2 separate regions of the Homo sapiens genome follow, and region 2 is linked to region 1. The links are contacts of gene promoters, found by promoter capture Hi-C in human tissues and cell types (Jung and others, 2019). All regions are on one chromosome and are shown on one strand. Each heading gives the region's core, a stretch centred on a gene start or on the middle of the fragment in contact. The rest is flanking DNA. Distances are from core to core; before and after follow the strand shown. Region 1 holds the start of TMC6 (transmembrane channel like 6). Region 2 overlaps DNAH17 (dynein axonemal heavy chain 17).

Region 1 (3,467 bases), core at 474-2,973:
TGTCCAGCCTGCAGCTGAGGCCCTCTCTGTTCAACTCCTTCCAGCCTGGATAGGCAGGACTTGACCTCGAGGCCTGAGCTGGGAGCCTGACATGGGTGGGGATGGGAACGGTGGGGGCACAGGGGCCAAACTCTTTATCTGCCGGCCTCACCCTGGAGGGTGTGATAATGACAGGATGGTGGGCTCCCCAGAACCTGGCTGCTGGGTTTCCAGATACTCTTGGTGTTACTGCTGTACTTCCAGCCCCTGTCATTGGCGTTATGGTTGTGCCAAGACCCAGGCCTAGCACCTGGCCGGTAGTAAGTGCTCAGGAATTGGCTCCATTCATGCTCTCCCAGGCTAGATGTTTAAGACATATCTTTGCCAATTCTCTGTCCTTGGGCCCCTGGGAAGCCCGCAGCCCTTCCTCTCTGCTCCCTCTCTACCTGCTATAGGGCCCAGTCATCTCAGGTCTGAATGTTCATAGCTTTTCTGCCTCTCTGCCCACCTCCTTCCTGGTTTCCAGAGTCCTTTCTGTGTGTCAGGCGCAAGCTATGTGCTGGTGCTGGGCACACAGTGGGCTGGGGTAGGAGGGGGCACAGAACCACAGATGTACATGTCAATAGGAAGTGGTAGGTGCTCCACCAGGGTTCAATCTGGGGAGGCTCCCCAGAGGAGGTGGCATTCATGCAAATTCAGTGTGGGTATGCAGGGAGGGGGAAGCAGTGGGAGGAGAGGCAGGGGCTGGGTCTCCATGCCAGGGTGCCACTTGCCAAGAACCAGCTTGGGGTAGCCATCTGAGGACCACACTGGCAGCTCCAAAAGGCCCCAGCCTTGACCCCTGCCTGGTCCTCGCTTTTGCTTGCCTGCTCTCCCCTGCAGCAGTGCCCTCTCCTGCCCTCCTGGGCCCCAGCTCACATTCACCCTGCCTGCTTCATGGCTTCTCCCCGCCAGGAATGACCCTCCCTTCCAAATGGGCTTGGGGTGGGGGGTACAATCTCAAAGGCAGTTTCCTCCATAGAGTTCCCAGGTGGACCACTAAGTCTCCTGCTTTGGCTGGGGGCACCCTAAAGGGTGATTAACTTCTCTCAGCCTCAGTTTCCTCATCTGTGAAATGGGAATATCAGTGCATACCTTCCTGGCTCATGGGGAATAACAGAAAACAGGGCAACGGGTACAGCACCTGGGGACAGTCACCTAAGTGTCAGCGTGTCCTCCTTTTCATCCCCTCCTCTCCACACAGCACACAGGAAGTGAGCCAGAACTCTTGCTAGATAAACAATGAACCCCGCCCAGGTGTCAGGAGTGGGAGATAACCAGGCTCCCCCCGCCGGGGTCGGGGAGAGTCAGCAGGAGGCTTGCGGGGGCGGCGGGGGGGGGGGCGCTGCCCAATCTGGAGTGAGATACTCTGTGTCCCTGGGGCTTTCGGCGGCATCTTACTTGGACGATCCCTAACCATGGGAAGCAGATGAGTCTGGAAATATTGCCCCTTTTTGGAACTTGGGGAAACTGAGCGTCAGAAAAATTGGGGACTTCAACCAGGGGCTGGAATGAATCCAGCCCAGCTCAGACCTCAGGAGGAGGGGTCGGAAGTTGGCAGGGGAGGAAGGCATAGTCGCCGCGGGGCGCCCGGAGGAGGGCGGGGGCGCCGCGGGCCGGGCCGGGTCACGTGATAGCCGAGGCCCGCCCCCCCCCCCCCCGCCCACGTGGGCCGGGAGGTGCGGCTACTCCCCCGGCCCCGGCAGACCTGCGACTGGCCCAGTCGCCCCTGGGGCCCTTTGCCACTCCCTTGGCAAGGAGAGCCGAGACCTCAGTTCCCGGCGGCTCTTGCGGGGCACAGGTGAGCCCTGGCTGCGCGCGCGGCCCCTCCTCCCCGGCGCCTCCCAGGTGAGCGGCCGCGATCCCGGTCCCGGGTCCCGCCAGCCCCAGCTGCTTCTCCTATGCGGGGACAGCGGCAATCCCCCCTGAATTCCTTTCGGCCTCTGGGGCCATTTGGCAGCCGAGTTCCCTCCCCGGGTGCTCCTGGAGCTCCCAGGGCTTGACCCTCCGGCTCGGACAGAGCTGGGAGCGGCAGGGGCGGGGAGGACAGTGCGGGGAGCAAAATCCGCAGCCCCCACCCAGGTCCCCCAGCCGAGCGCCAGGGCACGGGGAGGGGAGGGGAGGGGGTGTGGCCGGGATGGGAAGGGGCGGGGGACAGGGAGGCCGGCTGGACGGGTTCGGTGGCCCCAGAGTTGCAGCCGCTCTGGGCTCTGGGGCCAGGTTGCGGTTCTCCCTGGGTAGCGGCTGCTCCCGGGAAGCTCGCTGCCGGCTGGGGTGGGGGTTCCTGGAAACGGGCGCCACCCAGCCTCTCCCCACCTAGCTCAGGAATGGTGCGCCTGGAAACTCCGCTGGACTTGCCTGGGCCTCGGGGCGGAGTGCTGGGGCGCTGGGTGCCCGAGTCCCCGGGTTCCCTGAGCTTAGAAGGGCCTGTCTGGAGGAAGGGATTCCAGCTCTAGGGACTGGGTGGGGCGTCCTCAGCCCCTCTTTCGGCAGCTGTCCCGTGTTAGGCTGGGTGGGGCCGCCTCGGACCCAGCTCTGGGCTGGTTTTCCCACGTCTTTGCTCCTGCTGGAGGGAGGGGGTGGTGTGGGGCCTGGGCCCGAAGATGGCACCCAGGACACTGAGGGAGGGCGCCGTCCGGTCCTGTGACTGGCACCCCTGCAAGGAGCTGCTCTGTCGGGGCGCCCCCGGGCTTTGCCTGTCCGAGGAAAGCGCCCTTCAACCCGGCCGACTTTGAGCCCTGAGTTCCTGAGGGTGAGCGCAGGAGGAGTCCAGGGCAGAGGCCGGCAGGACTCGCTGGTGGCTGGGAGCTGAGTCCTGGCTCCACTCTCACAGATGAACGGGCCCCGAGCCCAGGGCCCCAGACAAGGCTGCTCTGGTTCCAGTTGTGCCGGGTGACGGCAGAGCCAGGACAAAGGAGGCCTGTTGAGGTCCTGGCCACCCCCAGCCGGCCGCCCTGGGATGATGGAATGCAGGGCAGTGGGTCTTCTGAGAACATGAGGACCTTGGCGCCCTGACGGCGGTGGCATGGAGTGACCTCTGTGTGTGGGGGAGGAGCCCCCTGTGCTGCTTCCGCCTGGGGCTGGTTGGGGGTGAGGGCTCCAGCAGCTAATTTCCTGCTAGAGGAAGTTCTTTGAGGTCACAGGGCAGACGCAGAGAAGGCCTACAGCCTACTCTGACCTTTCTCTCCAAAAAGGAGGTGTCTCTGTGCCAGAACCCTGGGCATGGAGATCCTGAAAGGGGCTGTGTCTACAGGCACCCTACCTCTTCCCCATTTCCCAGGGACTGGCGACATCGAGGAAACAGATGTGGAACTGCAGACCCCACACCCTTCCTTCCTCTCTCCCCTCCCCTGACACTGGAGGGGGCCCCCCATTCCATTCTGGCATGAGGCTTATTCGGTGCCTCACCATTTATGTACCTGGGGTGATAGGGGGGTGGGCGGGACTGT
Region 2 (6,862 bases), core at 2,714-5,213, 350 kb before region 1:
GCCACGTGTAAATGCCCTGCCACACGTGAAGAAGCCCAGGAAGGCCGGTGTGGCAAGGATGTGAGAGCCAGAGGCAGAGGGTGCCCAGGGCAGCTGCAGCCAGAATCCCAGGGCCTCGGGACAGAGTGCAGATTTTCTCCTAACGGCACCGAGAAACCAAAGGTGGCACGTTTAGGTTTGCAGTTTGGAAAGATGAGAACATTCAGTTCAGTTGTCTTTTTTTTTTTTTTTTTTTTTTTTTTTTTTGAGGAGAAATCTCGCTCTGTCTCTCAGGCTGGAGTGCAATGGCTCGATCTTGGCTTACTGCAACCTCCGCCTCCTGGGTTCAAGGAATTCTCCTTCCTCAGCCTCCTGAGTAGCTGGTAATACAGGTGCCCACCACCACGCCGGCTAATTTTTGTACTTTTAGTAGAGAAGGGGTTTCGCCATGTTGGCCAGGCTGTTCTCGAACTCCTGACCTCAGGTGATCCGCCCGCCTTGGCCTCACAAAGTGCTGGGATTAGAGGTGTGAGCCACCGTGCCCAGCCATAGTTGTCTCTTAAAATAAGCAAGTAGCTCAGGCCAAAAGAGCCTAGAAACTAGTCTGCTCGTTCATGAAGCCTGGCCTCATGCCGAGAAAGGCAGGCATGGGGGGTTAGGTAGTCTACTTGAGGTCATGGTCCTAATGAGTGGCGGAGCTGGGTTATTATTATTATTATTATTATTATTTCCAAGACAGAGTTTCGCTCTTGCTGCCCAGGCTGGAGTCCAATGGCGTGATCTTGGCTCACTGCAACCTCTGCCTCCTGGGTTCCAGCGATTCTCCTGCCTCAGTCTCCCAAGTAGCTGAAATTATAGGTGCCTGCCACCATGCCCACCTAATTTTTGTATTTTTAGTAGAAACGGGGCTTAACTATATTGGCCAGGCAGGTCTCTAACTCCTGACCTCAGGTGATCTGCCCGCCTCGGGCTCCCAAAGTGCTGGGACTACAGGCGTGAGCCACCACGCTCAGCCAGAACTGGATTTTGAGTTCAGATATGTCTGACTCCATCACTTGCCTTTTCCTCACTAAACGACACTCCCAGAGCTCACGACTATAGGAAGCCTACTCTGGGCTGCAGGCTGTGATGTGGGGACGGAGGCATCAGAGGTGGCTCCCTGGGGGAGGTGACAAAGCTGCCACTCTGAGGAGGGAGCCTGGAGAGAGTTTGACATCATTTGAGGAGAACCTAACGTGGTGTGGGGTGGGAGATTTGAGGGTACCCAGACAGGAGAGGAGGACAGGTGCATGCATGAGAGCCCACCCGTTCCTCTCTGCAGGCAGGTCTACTGTGAGGGCTGTGGCGGCTCAGCCTCGGTTTCCCTGCAACTCGCGAGGCCCCTTCCAAGGGTTGCACACGGTCATGTGCCCTTGTAAAATTTGTTTAAGATTTTTGCTTTCTTTTCCTCAAGGAGGAGCCTCCACATTCTTAAGCTTCAGCCCTAGGTCCACATCTGCCCTGGAGTTTACCCTGAAGGATCTTCAGGAGGGGTGGCAGAGTGAGATTTGAGTTTTCAAAAGATCCTTCTAGAATATCAGATTAACATGGCCCCACGACAACAGGGAAGGATGGACTGTTTAGTGGATGTGTCAGGAAAATGCTCACCTGTGGAAGAAAAAGGCAGACAAGGGTGGGGCCCGTGGGAAGGATGGGCCCGCAGGGAAAGGGTGAGCTGTGAGGTGGGCAGAAGCAAACAGGGACAACATCTGTGACCTGAGAAGTGTGCACAGGAGAGGACTGCGCAGGCAAAAGTTTCAGAGGCACACACAGAAGGGCAAAAAATTGATGGCTGTGATTTAAATGAAAGTTAAGGAATTTTGCTCAGTGAGAGACACCATGGACATATATAATGGAGAAATAAAAGAATGGAAGAAAACATTTGCAATGTATAAAATTGACAGTGGATTAATATCTGAAATATACAAGGAATTACTAGAAACTAACAGACGTCAACTTCCAACACACAAAGTGCATAATGGGGGAAAAAAACAAAAGTGCTGGGCGCAGTGGCTCAGGCCTGTAATCTCAACACTTTAGGAGGTGGAGGCAGGAGGATCACTTGAACCCAGGTCATATAGTGAGACCCTGTCTCTACAAAAACTTAGCCGGGCATGGTAGTGTGAGGCTGAGGTTGGGAGGACAGCTTGAGCCCAGGAGATAGAGGCTGCCGTGAGCTGTGTTCACCACTGCACTCCAGCCGGGGTGAGAGAGCAAGACCCTGTCTCGGGGGAAAAAAAAAAAAAAAAAAAAGTAACTAGTGTAGTGTGACATCAAGGAAATTATTCAGCTTATTTTATTTTATTTTTGAAATGAAATCTTGCTCTGTTGCCCAGGCTGGAGTGCAATAGCATGATCTTGGCTCACTGCAGCCTCCACCTCCCAGGTTCAAGCAATTCTCCTGCCTCAGCCTCCCAAGTAGCTGGGATTACAGGTGCCTGCCACCATGCCTGGCTAATTTTTGTATTTTTAGTAGAGATGGGGTTTCACTATGCTAGCCAGGCTGATCTTGATCTCCTGACCTCAAGTGATCTGCCCATCTCAGCCTCCCAAAGTGCTAGGATTACAGGCATGAGCCACTGTGCCTGGCCTATTCAGCTTATTTAATAATAGCAGCCATTAATAATTATCCTGATAACAGGGATGGTGAATATTTATTGCATACTTACTGTATGTCAGGTACTCTTCCCAGTGTTTTTTCATATGTTAGCTCATTTTATCCTCCTCATGACCCATTGCACAGGTGAGAATATTAAGGCACAGAGATGTTAACCAACTTCCCAGAGCCCCAGCACTGCTTAGGGGAAGAGCTGGAACATAAACCCCAGCCTGCTCTCTGAGCCACTCTTTTGCCTCTTGTTTCAAAATTTCTCTGGAGAGCATGAAGTCACAGCAGCTGCTTCACATATTATCAGTATCTGTGGAGGGTTTTTAAGACCACATGGAGTAATCCCAGCATTTGGGAGGCTGAGGCGGGCGGATCACAAGGTCAGGAGATCAAGACCATCCTGGCTAACACGGTGAAACCCAGTCTCTACTAAAAGTACAAAAAAATTAGCCAGGCATGGTGGCGGGCACCTGTAGTCTCAGCTACTCGGGAGGCTGAGGCAGGAGAATGGGGCGAACCCAGGAGGCGGAGGTTGCAGTGAGCCAAGATCATGCCACTGCACTCCGGCCTGAGTGACTGAGTGAGACTCCATCTCAAAAAAAAAAAAAGCCGGGGGATGGGGGGCGGGCGTGGTGGCTCACACTTGTAATCTCAGCACTTTGGGAGGCTGAGGCGGGCGCATCACGAGGTTAGGAGATCGAGACCATCCTGGCTAACACGGCGAAACCCCGTCTCAACTAAAAATGCAAAAAATTAGGCAAAGCTTGCAGTGAGCCGAGATTGTGCCACTGCACTCCAGCCTGGGCAACAGAGCGAGACTCTGTCTCAAAAAAATAATAATAAGGAGGGCATTCTTGGGAGCACAGTGGGGGCAGGGGATGGTTCCTCCAGGCCAGGGGCACAACATGAATGCTGGTTTCCCCCCTCAGGTATGACAGACATAAGCTGACGTTAAAAGATATCCATAATTGTCAGTACGTGGCCTGCATGAACCCCACTTCCGGATCCTTCACCATCGACTCCAGGCTTCAGGTAAGCAGAAACCATACTCATCCCCGTCACCTGCCATGAGTCTGAGGCTTGCTTCTGGCAAATGAGAGGAAAAGCTTTGGTTTAGGGTGTTAGGGCTGCAGGCCGACATTTTCTGGAGAACTCCTTAACTTTGCAGAATGTGTCAGAAAATTCCAGGGCATGGAGAGGATGAGCAGCTAGCCAGCCTTCCCTGTGACCCGGTCAACTGGCAGAGTTAGCAAATAAAATTGCAGTTAAATCCAAACTCCAGATAAATAAATATGTTTTTAGTCTAAGTATGTTACATACAATATTTGGGACATACCGTTCTTTTTTTGTTGTTTTGTTTTTGTTTTGAGGCTGAGTCTCACTCTGTCACCCAGGCTGGAGTGCAATGGTGTGATCTGAGCTCACTGCAACCTCCGCTTCCCGGGTTTAAGCAATTCTCCTGCCTCAGCCTCCCAAGCAGCTGAGGCTACAGGTGTGCGCCACCACACCTGGCTAATTTTTGTATTTTTAGTAGGGACGGGGTTTCACCATATTGGCCAGGCTGGTCTCGAACTTCTGACCTCAAGTGATCTGCCCTCCTCGGCCTCCCAAAGTGCTGGGATTACAGGTGGGAGTCACCGTGCCCGGCCTGGGACATACTTTTTTTAAAAAAAAAAAAAAAAAAAAAAAAAAAAAAAAAAAAGTACTTGTTGTTTATCTGAAATTCAGATTTAGCAGGGCATCCTGTATTTTATCTGTAGCCCTTACCCAGACAGACTTTGCCTCTAAGTTATCTAAACACACAGAGATCTGGATTTAAACCCAGGCCTGTACTCTGAGCCCATCTCTTGCCTTTGCCAAAATTCTTCTTGAGAGCATGAAGTAAATTTGTCTGTTTCATGTGTAATGATACTTAATGCAGTTTTACCACATGCAAGGCACAAGGAGGGTAACTGCCCATTCTGACAATGCCCAAAAGACCTTAGAACATGAGGACAGGGGCCACTCTCCCGCGAAGGTGGCCCTGGCCCCAGGCAGGTCCCCAAGAGCTGGCTGACTGGAGTGTTTGGTTGTTTTGGGGTAGCGCCATTTCTGCGTGTTTGCTGTGAGCTTCCCCGGCCAGGAGGCCCTCACCACCATCTACAACACAATCCTGACGCAGCACCTGGCCTTCCGCTCGGTCTCCATGGCTATCCAGAGGATAAGCAGCCAGCTGGTGGCCGCGGCCCTGGGTAAGCTGGCTGGCCTCATCCCCTCTCCCATCGGTAAAACCTATGGCTCTGTGGGCTGATGGTTCTTCACATTTTCCCTTGATAAATATTTTATTTATAATTCTAAATCAATATCTTAAAAACGATGCTATGTTTCGACAGGAGAAATTGTGAAATACAATTGCTTCATGGGGAGGTAGGGGCTAGGAAATTCTATACACAAATGATTTAAGGAGAACAGCAAATTCCCTCCCACTTCAAAGAGCTGTGCAGATTTCTTACTCCAGTTGTCACCATTTCGTAGTCCATTGGCTTTAGAAACTTGAGGCTTGCACTTCCTGGGGCCATCAAGAGTACATGAGAATTGACACGTCCTTTTCCTCTAACAGCTTTGCATCAGAAAATCACGGCAACATTTCTTCCCACGGCCATTAAGTTTCATTATGTCTTCAACCTCAGGGACCTCTCCAATATTTTCCAGGTACTGCTCTTGTAGCTTTATGTCATGCCTGCCTTACGGTCCAGTGCCTGATCCACAGGTGCTTTCCTCATCACAGCTCTCAGGGAGGTGTGGACTGATGATGGTGGTGATGGTGGTAATGATAATGATGATAATAATGGTGGTGATGGTAATGGTGGTGGTGACAGTGGTAGTGATGGTGGTAATGGTGATGGTCGTGATGATGGTGATGTGATGATGGTGGTAGTGATGGTTATGATGATAGTGATGGTGATGTGATGATGATAGTGATGGTGGTGATGGTGATGATGGTGGTGATGATGGCAATAGTGGTGGTGATGGTAATGATGGTAATAATTGTGATGATGGTGGTAGTGATGGTAGTGATGGTGGTGATGGTAATGGTGATAATGATTATAATAATGGGGGTGATGACGGTGGTGGTGACAGTGGTAGTGATGGTGGTAATGGTGATGGTCATGATGATGGTGATTGTCATGATGGTGGTGATGATAGTGATGGTGGTGGTGAGGGTGATGGTGGTGATAATGATGGTGATAGTGATGGTGGTGATGATGGCAATAGTGATGGTGATGGTAATGTTGGTAATGATGGTGGTGATGATGGTGATAGTGGTAGTGATGGTGGTGCTGATGATAATAGTGGTGGCAGTGATGGTGGTGGTGATGGTGATGTGGGTGATGTGATGGTGATAATGGTGGTGGTGGTGATGTGATTGTGGTGATGGTGGTGGAGATGATAATGGTGATGGTGGTGGAGATGATAATGGTGATGGTGGTGATGATGGTGGTGATGGTGATGTGGTGATGATGGTGGTGGTGGTGATATGATGGTGATAATGGTGATGATGGTGATGTTATGGTGGTAATGGTGATGATGGTGATGTGATGATGCCACGTGGTGGTGATGGTGGAGATGATGATGATGGTGGTGGTGATGGTGATGATGGTGGTGGTGATGGTGGAGATGATAATGGTAATGATGGTGGTGTGATGGTGGTGGTGATGGTGATGATGGTGATGATGGTGGTGGTGATGGTGGTGATGATGATGGTGGTGGTGATGGTGGAGATGATAATGGTGATGGTGGTGATGATGGTGGTGATGGTGATGTGGTAATGATGATGGTGGTGATGATAGCGATGGTGGTGGTGATGGTAATAATATTTCCTCTCATTTACTGACTGCTTACTCTGAGTCAGAGATTGGGTTTGGCCCCTTACATTCCCATTTTCTCCTTCTCCAACAACACATAAGTTTGGTGCTTATATCCCCATTTTACTGAGCAGGAGTTTGTGGCTGAGGGAGGCTAAGTTATGCCCACCTCCTCCCACGTAAAGTATCAGCCCAGCCGGGTGCAGTGGTTCATGCCTGTAATCCCAGCACTTTGGGAGGCCAAGGCGGGCAGATCACGAGGTCAGGAGTTCGAGACCAGCCTGGCCAACATGGTGAAACCCTGTGTCTACTAAAAATACAAAAATTAGCTGGGCATGGTGGAGTGTGCCTCTGTAGTCCCAGCTACTCGGGAGGCTGATGTGAGAATCAC

Evidence for each region. Contacts are between HindIII fragments. The study calls those that stand out against the background at their distance.
Region 2: a fragment that was not itself captured here is called in contact with the fragment with the promoter of TMC6 in region 1 in 1 of the 25 tissues and cell types used here (spleen).

What each region holds. Positions count from the first base shown.
Region 1 is chr17:78,127,011-78,130,477 of GRCh38, reverse strand. It overlaps TMC6 (transmembrane channel like 6), which reads left to right and starts at 1,723. Exons shown (of 20, transcript NM_001127198.5): 1 at 1,723-1,866. RefSeq lists silencers at 1,630-2,159, 3,430-3,467 and an enhancer at 2,840-3,089. The HindIII fragment of the contact is 22,186 bases long and covers 1-3,467 here.
Region 2 is chr17:78,477,480-78,484,341 of GRCh38, reverse strand. DNAH17 (dynein axonemal heavy chain 17) reads left to right here. Exons shown (of 81, transcript NM_173628.4): 49 at 3,556-3,658; 50 at 4,710-4,857; 51 at 5,226-5,317. Among named protein-coding and RNA genes, the nearest start is that of DNAH17-AS1, 4.0 kb to the left of the region's middle. The HindIII fragment of the contact is 3,081 bases long and covers 2,423-5,503 here.